3 separate regions of the Homo sapiens genome follow, and regions 2 and 3 are each linked to region 1. Evidence: promoter capture Hi-C in human tissues and cell types (Jung and others, 2019). All regions are on one chromosome and are shown on one strand. The core of a region is centred on a gene start or on the middle of the fragment in contact, and the rest is flanking DNA. Distances in the headings are between cores, read along the strand shown. Region 1 holds the start of COPS8 (COP9 signalosome subunit 8). Region 2 overlaps COL6A3 (collagen type VI alpha 3 chain). Region 3 has its middle 15 kb from the start of ACKR3.

Region 1 (3,305 bases), core at 1-2,500:
TCCTCCAGGGGCCTAGAAGGCCAAAAATGAAAACAAAACAAAACAACACAAAATTTTAAAAACCTCATTTACCCTTTAACTTTCATTTTTAAAATAATATTTTATAAATGCTAATTTTAAAAGTAAGCCTTTTTAGTCTAAGACTATAAGTAATCTTATAGTCCTATTATAGATTTAGAAACAGCTTAGAGAAGTATCAAACACGAAAATTCTGAGTATTAAGTTTATATTCGTCATCAGCTTTGATTTATCTCCCTTTGGGCTTCAGTTTCTTTATACATTCAAGAATATGTAAGTGGATCCCCTTCCCCAGTTCTCAAATTCCCATTTAAATGATCTTACTATTATAAGAAACAAATTCGACAGATTCCTGAAGCATTCTGATTCTGCCCATTACATCAAGCGTCCTGAATAAGAGACAGAAAATCACCACAGCTGCGTTGCAAAGACAATTCTTTCCATTTTAACTCAACTGGAAAGTATCTATTATCTATTAGTGAGCTGCTGCTTCTGGATGTTGTCTCCTTTATTTAATTTTAAAACTAATGATATAAACCCTTTTTAAGTGTCTAAGAAAAACATTAACTTTAACAGCTGCATAACTTTCATCTGTCTTACTGAAGACAAAATGGCAAGCTAACTTGACAACATTACGAGAAAGGCTTTGTGAGTTAAAAAAAGGTTACAATGGTCACATTTTTCTTGGTGTGCGTGTGAGTTGCGGTGTGTGTGTTAGTGTGTGTGTGTATACCAAGATCTTTAATAAAACCCACTTTACTACCCTCTCCCAACCCGATACTGGGAAGGAAAGATGCCTAATTAATATGAGCTCATCGGTAGGTGCTGGAGCAAAGACGCACAGGGTTTTCGGGCTCACAAGCTGAAGACACATAACAAAAAGGTCCCGGCGAGTTCGGGGAGACCGGGCCCGGTCGGAGCAGGTTGCGGCGGTCAGGGATCCACACGTCCACCTCCCACGCCCGCCCCGTGAGCTCCCAAAGCCCGCTAGCCTCAGACCCCGTTACCCTGGAAACTGGTGCCGCCCCAGGGCCTAAGACTACTCCGCAGTTTCTCCCAGCGCGACGCAAAGGGTTACCTCGAGCTCCTGGTTCTCGCACTGATCCAGCAACTTTTTGAAACTAAAGGCGCTTTCCGCCATCACCGCCACTGGCATCTTCGCGGCCGGCCTCGCCGCTGCACCGTCCGGACAGCCAAACCCCAGACTGTCCCTCAGGCGTCGCGCCCGCGATGACGTTTAAAGCCGCCGTTGCCGCCGAGCGCCCCTGCGTACCAGACCGTCAGTTCCGGGGCGCCGTCAGACATCGCTGCGGCCGGGATAGGGCGCCGCCGTTCTGGCCGGCTTTCTCGGTGCCCTGGAGGACCTGGCCGGCTCCGCGGGAAGCTGTACTCAGAGCGCGCGGCCGCCCTCTGGCAGGGAGGAGTTCGTTGCACTTTTGAGGGTTCTTCACGAAGACATCCAATACATAGAAAACAAGTAACAGCAACAGTAACGAATTTTTAAATATTAAAATTGCTGGGGAACACGACGGATCCTGCAGCTGCTCGGCTGTCCCGGTCGTCAGTGACGCTAGGGCTCCGCACCGTACCCTGCATACCGTAGGTGCTCACGAAACGTTCGTGAGTTCCCTGCTCTGAGGAAACAAGCTTAAAAACTCAGAATCTAAGGTGTGAGTCTCCGCAAACCTGCTTGTTGGGCAGCGTCCCCCGCCCGGGCTAGCCCTGCACGCCCCACCCCGGAGCCACGCTTCTCCAGCCGGGACCCCTGCCTCCTTCCAGGCTATTCTCGGAACCGCAGCCAGAGGGAATTTTTTTTTCCTTTCCTGAAACGTAGAGCAGATCTGGTTACTCTTCTGCACAACGCCCTAAAATCTAGGGCCCTTCCCATCCCTCAGAATTTACATCTAATTCTCAGCTCCCCTCCGGCTTGCTGTAGCCATCCTGGCTTTTGTTTAGCACAGCACTTACTGTTAGTGACATTATATTGTATATTATTAACATATTTGTGTTTTACATCCCTCACTAGACCCCCAGGAAAGAGGCTTTGATGTGTTGCCTGCTGCAAGGCTGGCTGCATAATTTGTGGAGCTCAGAGAAAAGTGCGGAGCTTCCTTGTTCAAAAAACAGAAAGAAAGTGCCTCTGAGGTCATAAAATATAAAACTTTCTCTTTCCTCTCAGTTTCTCTCTTTTCATAGTGTTTTTATGTGTTATTTAATATCATTCCAAGAAAAATTTAGATTTAAATTGTTAGCATGAAGTTCACCATCCATCTTTACGTTGTGCAATGCCAGTTTTAAATACTAATATAAGTGCACTGATCTCATATGTGGAATCACAGAAATTATGCAATTTGTACTTCATAGCTTATACATGCATATAGATTTTGTTTTTACCAGAACCACGCTGGTAAAAACAGATGCTGCACAAAGTGAACTTGCCCGTTTTCATCGCACTTTACGTGCACGAATTCTACCTCTACTCTCGACCTGGGACTCACCGATGCGTAAGGAAGGACTGAAAAGCAAAAGAACTATGGACTGGCCTTTTGGCATGATCAGGTGTCTAATATAAAGAAGTGCATGAATAAGAAAATATATGATATGAGTGATGGTTAATACTGACTGTCAACTTGATTGGATTGAAGGATGCAAAGTATTGATCCTGGGTGTGTCTGTGAGGGTGTTGCCAAAGGAGATTAACATTTGAGTCAGTGGGCTGGGAAAGTTCGACCCACTGTTAATCTAGATGGACACCATCTAATCAGATGCCAGTGCAGCTAGAAATGTAAAGCAGACAGAAAAATGCGAAAAGAGAGACTGGCCTAGCCTGCCAGCCTACATCTTTCTCCCACGCTGGATGCTTCCTGCCCTCGAACATCAGACTCCAAGTTCTTCAGTTTGGGACTTGGACTGGCTCTCCTTGTTCCTCAGCTTGAAGACTGCCCATTGTGGGACTTGTGATCATGTGAGTTAATACTTAATAAACTCCTCTCTCTCTCTCTATATATATATATATAAATATATATATCCTATTAGTTCTGTCCCTCTAGAGAACCATGACTCATACAATATGGTTTCTTCATGCTTCTTAAGACACCATTGCCTTCTTTCTGCCTTCGAAACAAGTTTACTCTCTTAAGGGGAAAAGTGCGGCCTTTTGGGGTGTCAGCACCCAGCTCCCTCAGTTGTAGATACAGCACGAGTACCTTGTGCTCACTTTGAGTCTTGCTGGCCTCGCAACATCAGGGGTCCACAGGGAATTCAGTGTGCATGGTGCATTATGAATG
Region 2 (3,562 bases), core at 395-2,894, 320 kb before region 1:
TTTTGAGTAGGCTAAATGAAAACTAATTTACAGAATTGCAAAATAGCTTGGGAAATCATATTCATTGGAATATGATTGAATATGATTTCAGGTTGAAGGGCCATGTAGGGCAATCTTTCTGATGAAAGGTATCCTTTTAAATTTCAAAGGGATAGAAACTAAACGGAAAAAGGCACCTCAAATCCTTTTTAGAATGAGGCAGAGTAAACAAAAAGATGAATAATCCTAAACAGAAAGATGAGAATGAAAATGTGATGAATGTCTCTTATTGAATCTGTTTCCTTTAGGACACAGAATCTAGGATGAAGGAACAGACCCCTTCCAGCCCAAGGATCTCAAGCAGCCAATTCTGAGTCTTTTTTTCATATTTGAAAGAATGATAGTAGACAGCCGACTTCCATTGACATAGAATCTGTGGTGTGTCACCACCAAGGAAGTCTATTTTTTCCCCAAAAGGCATGGGGAGTTTCCTTGAGATCTGGGCCAAATCTGGCACAGCCTCTAGGGTTTCCCGGGGTTCTTCCCATGAGCTTTGGAAATGCTAACTTGGGTTAGGGTTCTGGTTCTATGTTGTTTTTATCTATGTAGCTTTGAACAATCACTTTGCCTTGCTGGGGTTTCAATTTCTCAGCTATAAAATGGAGGGAAATCAGCCATCGGATGGTTGGGAGGAGGGCGTGAAATCCCACCCACAAGACAGAAGCCCAGGAAACGTTACCAGCACTCTCCTCTCTCCTTCCTCCGGGAGGGTGGTGTCGGGGAATGAGCGCGGATGGCTGCCTCATTCCCTCTTGTTGAAGAGGGCGGGTGGTCATCTGGTGAGATGGTGTTTGACATCTTTTAATAATCTAAATGAAAAAGTTCTCCAAAATTTGCTGCCAGGGAATTTCGTTTTTTTATAAATGGAGACTCCAGGACATGACAAACAATAGAAGAGAGTTAATTGCAAACGAAAATATCAGCAAATATTCAACAGCTGGGCTAGGAGCCCACGAGCCACAAGACCTGCTTCCCGCATGATGGCAGGAAAGTGTGTGGGGCCAAAGGCGTTTTTCCCACCTGGGAATTCAGCTCAGTCAAACCATATGGGTTCTGAATCATCAGTGGAGCCTGGATAACGCATTGTCCTACAGGCATTATCTCCCGTCCTTTTCAGAGCTGGAAGGGCTCCTTTCCTTCTCTTCCCTCCCCTCCTCTTCCCTCAATATCTGGATATATTCTGGATAAAATAATTCCTGTGCACAGTGTATTTATCCCATTACTTTGTGTTCCAATGGGAAGTATCTCCACTGAGGGGGCTACTCCTCCAAAGATTCACATCTTGAAAATAAAAATCTTTACATATGATTTTCAATGAACTAAAAGTTCATTTTACTCAGAATGGTTGAAGTAAGTGAGTGATGTCTTAGACTTCCCGGATTTTATTTTGTAACTATTTAGATTGTATTGAGCACTCTGGAAGATGAGAAATGTAATTTTGGAATTGCTCCAGAGTGAGCCCACTCAATGCTTTATATGTGACAGAATCAGTGGATTCAAAGGCTTTCACTGTGTGAGGTATGGGAATGATTAAGAAAACCATTAGCAAAACCTGCTCAAGGCATAATTCACTTGTGCTCTTTGTCAATGCTCCCTGCACAGGTGTCTGCAGCTCTTCCCATCCCAGACTCAACAGTGAGGAGACAGCTCTCATCTTATCATGTCCTATTTTTTCCACCTGGATTACAAAGCCGAATGCTTTACAAAGAGCCTCTATAATACTCTTGTGTTCTCATTCACAAACAAAAATACCACTTAAAATCATGCCTCTTGAACATGGATTAAACATTTAAAGTAATCGAACTGGATCTTCCAGAAGATTTGCATTAAAATTTTTAATTGAAGCAGTGATGCTTAAACTTTTGGGGGGTGAGGAGTGGCACAACTGCCTTTTAGAATCACATACAAACATGGACCCTTATCTCCAGAAAAACCCTCATCCATAGATGCAATTTTGCACTCAACTGTGGGAGGATCATAGACTCTTTGAATCTGTTGATCCCGTATTAAAACATTGATCTGGACCAGTTACAATAATACAGGTTGTTTTGGAAAGAACAGGCCATTTTCTTAGAAAGAATCTAGCAGGAAGCTTACCTTTGCTAAAAAAAAATTGACGCTCAAGCTTGATAGAACGAATCAAGAATAGCACATATAAAATGTACTTTTATATTATTCTGAAGTGTATATCATTATTTAATTGAGGTCATACAAAAAATTAGATATTGCAATTGCTTTTTTTTTTTATTTGAAGAAACACTCAGGAATGGGTCTAACAGACTGTAGGGAAGAAAGGTAGAGCTTGGTGGAAAAGTCTGGAAGGTTCCCAGGGTTGCATGGGCTTGAGGGATTCCTAGAGAGTGAAGGGGCAAAGTTGGGGCTGTGGCACGGTGGGGGTAGGGTCAACCTAAGTGGAGGGAGGAGAACAGGCAGTCCAGCCTGTCGGGGGTCCCTGAGCCCTGCTGTGCTGCGACCGGGCTAAAGCTTGGGAGCATTATCAAACCACAGCACAAGCACTGGAGACTGCTCTTCTACATTGTGTTAACATATATCCATGTCCAAAAGGCAGTGACCATTGCAAGGGAAAAAAAATCGGGCTGAGCTTTTGCAATACTGCCGCTATCACCACTCATTGCTGTCACTTTGTTGCAGAAAAATATCTGTTCTGTTGATAACTGGCCTCCTGAGCATCATTAGAACAGCATTCCTTTCTCACTGTTGATGCATTTCCAAGAGACTGCTGTATTGACAGGTGGTTCTATTTTAGCTGCTGAGATCATGGCTTCAAGTTCTCAGAATCTGAATCACAGGGTACATTTGTTTCATCACAGGTGGTACTTTTTGTTGACTTTCTTTGGAAATCCAAAGCCACATGGGTCCTGGTGTTCATTCCCTTGTTTGTGGCTTCATCTGTCTCCATCTCACCAATTTTTGGCGGGTCAGGCCTAGGGCCCACACTGTGTTCCGTCTTCCTCATAGCTGGGCCGCAAGATTTGGACTCCAGCTTCTCCCTCTGGGCCTGACCTCAGGCAGGAGGAATTTCACGGCAAATCCACGGGACTGAGCTTCAGGTTTCCTTTGCACCCACTTAGCTCCTGTCCTTGACTGGCAGCCTCAATCACTCTCTGTGGCTCTCCCTGTACCTTTGCTAAGTGGTCCATCTGGACACTAGTCTGCTGCTCCATTCATGGCAAAGTTACATCACTCATCAGCCGGACAGACTCTCCTCTGCTATCAATCTTCAGGTGGCAAGGCTGAGAACATTAGATCATCCTCATCCCTGATTTCATTAGCTGTATGGGGAAAATGGAATTCCTGTGCTACACAACAGACAACCATGAAGACTTGCAGAGCCCATGGGGGCACCTGTGGAGAGAGGAAGATTAAGATAGAGATACAAAAGCTCAGGCCTTGGGTGGAGCCGATTCCAAAGCTCAGAGGATACTAGTCAAGGCAGAAGCCATGTTTGCACCAGGTCTGAATGTTCATATTAGATTCTTTCCCACTTTCATGAGACTCTGAT
Region 3 (3,477 bases), core at 62-2,561, 500 kb after region 1:
GTGAAAGGCATGTCTTACATGGTGGCCGGCAAGAGAGAAGGAGAGCCAAGTGAAAAGGGAAACCCCATATAAAACCATCAGATCTCATGAGACTTATTCACTACCACAAGAACAGTACGGGGGAAACTGCCCTCATGATTGGGAGGAGGCTCCAGGAAACGCCATCAAGAAAGCCAAAGCTGCTTTTCTACCAGCTGCCTCAAGTTATCTCCCACCAGGTCCCTCCCACAACATGTGGGAATTATGGGAGCTAGAGTTCAAGATAAGATTTGGGTGGGGACACCGTCAAGCCATATCAGTAATTCTCTGTCTGGGGGCTCTCCTGTGCACAACTGGCTGTTCAGCAGCATTCTTGGCCTTGACTCACAAGATGACATTAGCATTCCCCACCCCAAGTTGGGACAACTAAAGATATCTCTGGACATTGACAAATGTCTCCTGGGGGTGCAAATTGTCCCCAGTTAGAATGAGTTTGAGACAGATGTGCCTCATCTTTTCACTCACCACCCACAGGCAGATATTCTCTTGCCCGATTTCTCTGAAATGCATTGTTTCTTCTCAAGAAAAATGCAAATTATGCCCAGAGAAAGTGGTCAGAATGGCTGTTGTTCTCTGAGCATGTACTATGTGTGCCCCAGGCACCGTGACATGCATTTTGCAGAGACTGTGCGATCTGATCATTACGATTACCCTATGAATCAAGTACTATCATCGTCCAACATTATAAACAAGGAAGCTAAGTTTAGCAAAGCTAAAACCTGGCCCACATTCCCCAGGATAGTAAACAGTGATGGTTCTTTGGGCTACACACTTGGCAGAGGCCTGAGACTTTGAGAAGGCGGATCTCAACCCTGTGGCCCAGGCTCTCGCTAGGATGGTCCTAAACATGCACATGGAAACTGTGTCCAGGAGTGTGTGTTGGTCACACAGATGGTAGCAAGTCTAGGTGTATGCACAGGTCTGTGTGAGCGTCAGAGACTGCACGAGGTGAGCAAACTCTGCTACTCTGCCAGAAGAGTTTATGGAAGAGTCAGGCCGTCCTCAGCCATCCTCAGGGCAAACGAACCACCATAAATCTCAACCACTTTCGAGTGGTTTAATGTCCTATCAAACCTCATTCAAACTAATCGTGTTCCATATCAAATGTCATTGATATCGAGACTGTGGGATCTTAGCAGTCCCTGCATAAATGCAAACCACCAGGGAGCTTTTCCTGGGAAATCCAAGACTAAGAAACAGGAAGTGGGAAATGTTCTATAGCGGTGGGTCGATCTTTTAAAGCATTTAGCCCACCTGAAACCACTGCCCCTGAAGGACTAAAATCTCAGTGGCATAGGCCCATGCAGAGGTATCCCTGGCACTTAGGGGCAAAAGCTCATACCTCCAGGAGAAAGCTCTGGGAACTTTCTCTGCTGTCTTCCTCAGCCATCCATCCCAACAGTACAGATCCACAGCACGCCACTTTTCCCCAGAGTTCTGAGACACCTGTGCTTACCTAAATGTGATGTCTCCCAGATCCATTACATATATACAGCCAATATCCTCAGAGTAGAAGCCCAGTAAGGCAGAATTTCCACATTCCTAATAAAATAGACCATGCCCCGGAGCTGCTGCCTCCTGGAGAGGCCCCAGGAAGCATCGGCTACAGAAGATTTAAAATGTATTGCTGCTCTGCCCAGATCTGACCACAGATATCAGTGGGGTCCCATCCCAGGTTGCTGCGAGACTCTTGGAAGGACCAAAAGCCATCAGCCAGCAAATAGATCGTATTCCCTTGTGCTCAGATGATTTTCCATCTGGGCTTTTCAGCGGCATTATTTTTCTTCTTCACTTGTGGGGAACCTGGGGTACAATCAAGGTCAGCAGCTCATACGTTGAACCAGATGGAAAGCATTTAACACTGACTCACTGATGACGGGCTGCCATCCGGGCTGCTGGGGGTGGCCTTCCGCTGCCCACCGCCCGCCATGCCTTGGGCATTTCAACCATGAAACAGGAGCAGAGTATTAGAGCCTGGGATGGGAGGAGGCTCCAGGAAGCGCCATCAAGAAAGCCAAAGCTGCTTTTCTCCCAACTCTGAGGTCCCACCCTGTGCCTGGGGCTCCAGACATCCTTCCTGGGGTCCAAGGTCATGGCGCTAACAGCTTTCTTACCACATCAGGAGGCGGGTGTCTTGGAAGATCTGTACAGAGAAAAGGACGCCAAAGAATGACCCTCCAATGGCAGCACTGCAGGCCCTCTAGTCCCTGGATTTGAGGAGAGCCAGGGGTCTCCTGTCCACCCCTCCTCCCTTCAAGGCCCACCCCATATCCAAATACAGCTCAGGATTCTCTCTGCCTCTTCTACACCACAGTCATAGGGTGGGGCTGATTTTTTTTTTTTTTTCAGTATTAACTCCCCTCCCCTCAGGACACTCTGTGTCCCTTGACCCAGCCTCTGTTATCCCACCTGGCTCCAGGGAAGGACCCTGCAGTGGAAATCAAAGGAAAGAGATTTTGAGTCCAGATAACTAGGAATAAACCAGCAAGTCTTCCAGCCCCAGGCAGGACAAAGAAGGGGATTTCTAGAAGGAACAGAAAGAACACAGTCACTGGAGCATTCCCGAGATGGAGCCTGCCCCTGCAGACAGCAGACCCCAGGGACGTCGGAGGGTCTGGGACAGTAGGCCACGGTGCCCTGGGCCCTGTGGGAGATGGAAAATCCCCCCAAAGCAAAAGGTGCCACCTGGTGAGTCCGGGTCCAGTTCAGTGTCACCCTCCCTCCCCACCCCCTCCACTGCAGTGTGGGAGGAGGCAGCTGGGGCAGCCCCCAGGCTGCAGAACAGCAGAAAAACAGAAAAGGGCCAGACCAGTCTCACCATCCAGCGAGGCAAAAGCAGCAGCAAGAGCCACATGAACTGGGGTGGCAGAGGAGCCCTGCAGAAGGATCGACAGGTCCTCTCAGACATCCACGTAGACACACAAGCCTGAAAGACCCTCACCCACCCCAGCACTGTTAGCCCCCGGGAACCTACTGAAATTCTAGGGTAAGCGGGTGGGAGAGACCGCTGGATGGACCGCGATGGCAATTCAGCATAGCAGTTCAGTTGAATGCCTTTTACCGCCCATCTATTGCAAGGCTGAGCATGTGGACTGCAATTGATGCCCTCCTCCCCCTCCCCATTTTGAATTTACTACTGGAAAAGTGTATTTCTGCCTGAACTTGACCCCTAGAAGGCTCACAGCAAACATGCAAGCCATTTTTATCGTCAAGGAACACATATTTGGGTCGAGAACTTTCCCGATTCCATGTTGCCATCCTACCTACTCTTATTTTCCCTTCTTCTTGGTATCTTTGCCTCTTGTATGCTGTTATCCCACTATCTACATCATTGTTATCGGACCAGAATCCCACTGAAGACCAGGTGTATATATGCACCTGAGGATGTACATGTGTATCAAGAACATATTTCCAGTAAGTTACAGCCCTAGTTTCAAA

What was found. The method cuts DNA at HindIII sites, captures the fragments that hold promoters and counts their contacts. A contact is called where the count stands out against the background at its distance.
Region 2: a contact is called between a fragment that was not itself captured here and the fragment with the promoter of COPS8 in region 1, in 1 of the 25 tissues and cell types used here (bladder).
Region 3: a contact is called between a fragment that was not itself captured here and the fragment with the promoter of COPS8 in region 1, in 1 of the 25 tissues and cell types used here (mesendoderm cells).

What each region holds. Positions count from the first base shown.
Region 1 is chr2:237,083,834-237,087,138 of GRCh38, reverse strand. COPS8 (COP9 signalosome subunit 8) reads right to left here and starts at 1,250. Exons shown (of 8, transcript NM_006710.5): 1 at 1,097-1,250; 2 at 1-12. The coding sequence starts at 1,174. COPS8-DT (COPS8 divergent transcript) reads left to right here and starts at 1,318. Exons shown (of 3, transcript NR_187934.1): 1 at 1,318-2,983. RefSeq lists enhancers at 415-1,309, 1,120-1,669, 1,310-2,204. The HindIII fragment of the contact is 6,775 bases long and covers 41-3,305 here.
Region 2 is chr2:237,402,692-237,406,253 of GRCh38, reverse strand. All of the region lies in intron 1 of COL6A3 (collagen type VI alpha 3 chain), which reads left to right. Among named protein-coding and RNA genes, the nearest start is that of COL6A3, 9.7 kb to the left of the region's middle. The HindIII fragment of the contact is 6,379 bases long and covers 1-3,562 here.
Region 3 is chr2:236,583,309-236,586,785 of GRCh38, reverse strand. No RefSeq gene overlaps it. Among named protein-coding and RNA genes, the nearest start is that of ACKR3, 15 kb to the right of the region's middle. The HindIII fragment of the contact is 3,951 bases long and covers 1-3,286 here.